2 separate regions of the Homo sapiens genome follow, and region 1 is linked to region 2. The links are contacts of gene promoters, found by promoter capture Hi-C in human tissues and cell types (Jung and others, 2019). All regions are on one chromosome and are shown on one strand. Each heading gives the region's core, a stretch centred on a gene start or on the middle of the fragment in contact. The rest is flanking DNA. Distances are from core to core; before and after follow the strand shown.

Region 1 (2,700 bases), core at 39-2,538, 1.1 Mb after region 2:
AAAAATGTTAAGGGCAACTAGAGAGAAAGGTCGGGTTTGTTTTCTTCTCAGGGAACCATCTCATCCTATTTGGAAATATTTTACTCACCTTCAGTATTTCACTTTCTGTTAAATTTTATTTAATATCTTTTTTTATTTCTTTTTGGCCTTTAAATTTTCATTTCTATCTTTTATTTTTCATAATTTTTATTTTTGTGTCTTCTAAATTAGTCTAAATTTATGAAATTGTCTTTTTATTTCTAATCTTTGCCTTAGTTTTAAAATCTAATTTTTTAGATCCTAAAACATTATTCTTCCTAATTCTGATTTATCTTTAACTCCAATATAATTTTCTTAATGTCTTTTAGGTTGTTTAGAATCGTGAAAAACAGTTTTCTTGTATTTTATGACCATATCCTTCTGGTATGCTTTCATTGTTTGTGGAATGTTATATGGATCAATATTCTCTTTTTAAGTTATAATAACTGCATGAGACTGGATTTGATCCTTTTCTTTTGCTCATTTTCATGTGAACTTATATTTTTCTGAATCTTCTAGAAAGAGACAAGGTTCATACATGTCTTATAAATTTACATAGTTCCTTCTTTTGTTGTTTTTGTATTGAGTTAAACAATATAGTGGATTGCTTTTGTCATTTCCTGGCTCTCATCCCTTTTCTCACCTATATCTTTTCCTTTTTTTTTTTTCAGTTATTGCACTGTTCTGCTCCAATTTTGACTTTACTCTTGGTAATTTTTGCTCAGTATGATGAAATGGATCCCTGCCTGTCAATTTGGAGAGGGTATAGTGGCTGCATTGCTCTTTAGAACTTACAGTGGGTGCCTTGTACCCACCTGCTACTGTGTTCAGAAAAACTCCTCTCATGTTCAACTGCTGATCTCAAATTGGCCCACTACATTTTCCAGTGAATACAATTTAATGATTTTGGGATTCTCCTATTCTCAGCTTTGTCAGACAACTTGCTTCTCTCTCCTTTATCCTGAACAGATGCTAATAAAAGACAGATTACCATCATTTATGTTGTGTGGTTCAAGGGGAATCCTTGTCACCTCGTTTTGTTATGGATTTGCTATCCAGTTGCTCAGTTTGTATTTATGAGAGCATTCCAGGAGATTTCAACACTATGCCACCACCACTGCCTCCACTTTCACAATATTCTCAGATTTCTTATATCTAAAAACCAAATTTCTAAATTTCCACTATACATTCTCTATAATTTTGCATCTCCCACTGTCTTGCTTAATTAAATATTTTTTATAGCTATCAAAGCTTCAAGTCTTTCTACCCCTTCCTGTTTTTTCAGCCTTTGAGTCATTTGCTATTCAGACAGAATCCTGGGATTAATCAATCACTTTGAAGTACTCAGTAGTGCTGTCATTTCCCTAGTCTTCTTTTCCTTTTTCAAAACAATTCCTGTCAAAGTCCCATTATATTTTAAGCTAAATTTCATGCTTCTTTACCCTTATATATATCTATCAAGCGTCACTGAAAATTGGCAAATGGAATTGCCAGACACAATTATACATAATTTCCAAACTCTTTCAAACATCCAGTTGAATTGTTGATGTACGTTGGTAATTCTTTTGTTTGTTTCCACTTAGCACCCTTTCAGATTCTCCATAGCAAATTCTCAGTCATCACCAGTCTTCAGAAGCCCTTCAGCCACTCCTCTTAACTATTAGCAGATCACATATTTTGCTAATTCCCAAAGGAAATCCACTTTGTCAGATACTCTTTTTCCCAATCTTAACCCTAACTTTATTCAAGTAAATTATTTTTCCCTCCCATCACTGTCTTTCAGTGCCCCTTTTTCATGAATTTTCAACATGTAACAACATTCTATGATTCTGCAGTCTTCTAATTAACCCTAACCCTAACTCTAACCTTAATGCTTATTTTATATTTATTTGTCAATACATTGCTAAAGACCTTTGCCTTTCATTATTCTGGTAAAAATACATTCCTCAGTACTTCTGCTAATTTCCTAAGAGCTAAGATTCATGGACTTGGTTTCTCAGCAGCATTTTGTTTGTGCTTAATATAACACGTCATTTATACATTAAACTCTTGACTTCTAGAGATGCAGTCATTTTTGTGGCATATTAAAGACCTTGGATTTTCTGTAATATGTTTTCCTGTTGCCTTTTCCTTTTTTTTCTGAAACTCACTTTGCTTCTTTAACACTAATCTTTCCTATTCTTCTCAGTTACCTTTGATGATAATTTTCCACTGCTTTCACCACCCTCCATATTTTAATGATTCTCAGCCTTATTTCCTATGCTTTTTATATCTCACTCCACATATTTTTCATGGTTTAGCCATTGCATTTATGCCTTCTTTTCAATCCACATTCTCCATTGCCTTAATTCAGAATTTCATCTAACCTTGCCAACAGTTTCATCTAGCTAGCTTCACCATGTTTTGTGTCTCAAATAAATAATGTAAATATTTCTTAAGCATCCTAATATTCTTAATATCTCAAATATAATCAGTTCTTAATATCAGAATGAGTAGGTGCTAAATAGCACTCCTTTAGAATTCTAATAGAGTAATATTTAAAATGTGATTTCTTGGAAATTTACTATTGTGCAGATAATTTTATGGTGCCATTTTATTGTTAGATGTTTCAGTTTTGCCTGCACACATTTAAGTGTTTTGTTAGAATTATTTTTGTGGACACTAATATTCATTTACATGTGC
Region 2 (2,700 bases), core at 113-2,612:
CAGGAGATGCTGAAGCTGGGATGACCAGCATCATTTTCTTAAGAGAACATTCAAGGATTTGTCATGATGGCTGGGCTTTCACTGGGTGTTAAGTCTACAAACAGCACCTTCAATTGAAACTGTCAATTAAAGTTCTTAAGATTTAGGAAGTGGTGGAGCTTGGAAAGTTATGAGATTACAAAATTCCTGAAAGTCCGTTAGAAAAACCACAGGATGAAAAAAAAAAAAAAAAAAATAAGGCCACAAAGAAGGCTTCAGAGGTCCCTGCTGGCCCAGGGACAGATACCTGTAGTGTCCAGCATCGCAGTGAACATGACCTGCTTTCAAAGGCAGAGGGTTTAAGGGGAGGGTGGGGTGGGAATGGTGGAGGCAAAGCCTCTCCCCATCCCCACCTCAGTTTTAGGTAGGGCTTTTAATTTAACCCAAGGACATCTCTCAACTTGGAGAATAATTCAGTCCTCAACAGTGCCTCAAATCTGCTATGGTTTTGCAGCGCAGCAGCAAGAATGTTTAATATATAATAGATAAAAATTTCATCCAAAAAATTAAAATAAAATATTCTTGCAACCCCCTCAACACCAATTCCTATCCTAACGTTAACTTATCACTTGTGCTGTTAACACTTGACCATGTACTTAATTGGAAACCTATATTCAAAAGACTGAAACTGAATCTTCACCCCAAAATGAAAAAGTAAAATGAATAACTTGACGTTTATGGCATATAGTTTAGGTAAACGCACATACCAGGAGAAAGGGGAAGAGGAAACAGAGGTGTCGGAAGCAAAGCTGAGTGACAGAACACATTCAGTTGGGGCAGATGTCTATACAAAGTGGAGTGGAACATCAGGAAAAGCTCCATATGGATTTATGTGCACACGTCTGGAGGCACCAGATCCCTCCATGGCAGATCCAAGAACAGGGAGCTAAGGGAGGAGGCCATTCCTGTCATTCCAGTTTTAGAAGCTCCACATCGAAGACGAGAGTGGCATGTGGTGGGATGATGCCTGGGTGCCCAGTGGCACCATAGGCATAATCTGGAGATATAGTCAGTTTGGCTCTCTGACCCACACTCATCTGGACAACCCCTTCTTCCCAGCCTCGGATCACCTCCTGCTTGCCTAGCATAAACTTAAAGGGCTTGTTTCTGTCCCGGGAGGAATCAAATTTCTTTCCATCTTCAAGCATCCCGGTGTAGTGCATCACGCAGGTCTGGCTGCGCTTCGGGAAGGTGCGCCAGTCTCCTGGGGAGATGGTTTCCACGTGCACTCCCATGGCGGCGGCCGACGCCGAGCGGGCGGGCAGCGCGACGGGCGGCGTGGACCGACAGCGACCTGGCGGCGGTTCCACGGCTCTGCCTAGTCCCTCAGCGCGTTGCCTGCCCATACTGTATTTTTAAAATCTACAAATTCTATATTAGTGCCTTCTGGGCAAGTGTGTTGAATGAGTCACTTAAAAATCTCTAAATAGGTTTTTTTTTTTTTTTCCCGTACTGGAAGTGTTACCATTTCCTTGTTAACTTTGTTAACTTTGTGTTTGGTCTCCCATTATCTGTGGCGGCTACGTTCCAAGATCCCCAGTGGGTGCCTGAAACCACAGAACCACAGATAGTACAGAACCCTATATATACTATATTTTTTCCTGTACATACATACCTATGATAAAATTTAATTTATAAATTAGGCACAGCAAGAGACTAAAAACAATGACTAATAATAAAATAGAACAGTTATAACAATATAAAAGCATCATTACTCTTGCACTTTGAGGCCATTATGAAGTAAAATAAGGGGTACATATTAAACACAAGCTCTGAGCTACCTTACAATTGATCTGATAACCAAGACAGCTACTGAGTGACTAACAGACAGGGAGGGTATACAGTGTGGAGATGGTGGACAATGGGATAATTCACGTCTCAGTCAGGTGAGAGTGGAACGGGATGGCTCGAGATTTCTTCACACTACTCAGAATGGTGTGCAATTTAAAACTTATGAATTGTTTATTTCTGAAGCTTTCAATTTAATATTTGCAGACCACTATTGACCATGGGTAACTGAAACTGCAGAAAGCAAAACTGTGGATAAGGGATACTATTGTATATATCTGGAGTTTGATTTAAAGGTCTAAAACAGATCTCTAAAACTTTTGCTCAAATGAATTAACTGTTGTCCATCTAAATAGTATGCTACGATTAGCGTAGCCACTATTGTCAGGTTTCTGCCAGAAGTATCAGTGTAGAGAGATATTTTAAAGAAAAAAGGAAGGATGTATATATTTGAAAGTTGTCCAGTACTTTGCATATAAACTCACAGTTATATTTTTCTTTCTGTGTGTTCTATTATGTTCATGTTAACTTAGAAAGAAATATGCTTTGAGTCTGGTTTACAAAGAACGATATAGATTCAGTAGTCTAAACTTAATGATTTACATACAGCTTTTTTAGTGATAGAAAACACTAGGTAAGTTAAGAAAGTTTAAGAGAAGCTGCTATTGTTCTTGAAAGCATGTATATTTAACTCTTTCTATGTGAAAAGAATGTTTTTGCATTCTTTGTTGCTGTAGATGTTATGTGTATATACCTTTTACTTTTGTAATTTTTAAAAAACAGTGGAATTATAAATTTCTTATCAACTTGTCTTTAGGTTAAATACATTTAGTGTAGCCTCTGCTTGCCATTAGGGCTAAGAACCTAACTACA

Evidence for each region. The method cuts DNA at HindIII sites, captures the fragments that hold promoters and counts their contacts. A contact is called where the count stands out against the background at its distance.
Region 1: a contact is called between a fragment that was not itself captured here and the fragment with the promoter of FKBP1C in region 2, in 1 of the 25 tissues and cell types used here (lymphoblastoid cells).

What each region holds. Positions count from the first base shown.
Region 1 is chr6:62,084,930-62,087,629 of GRCh38, reverse strand. All of the region lies in intron 2 of KHDRBS2 (KH RNA binding domain containing, signal transduction associated 2), which reads left to right. Among named protein-coding and RNA genes, the nearest start is that of KHDRBS2, 200 kb to the left of the region's middle. The HindIII fragment of the contact is 3,533 bases long and covers 1-2,700 here.
Region 2 is chr6:63,210,131-63,212,830 of GRCh38, reverse strand. It overlaps FKBP1C (FKBP prolyl isomerase family member 1C), which reads right to left and starts at 1,362. Exons shown (of 1, transcript NM_001395980.1): 1 at 1-1,362. The coding sequence starts at 1,274. The coding sequence ends at 948. The HindIII fragment of the contact is 10,095 bases long and covers 1-2,700 here.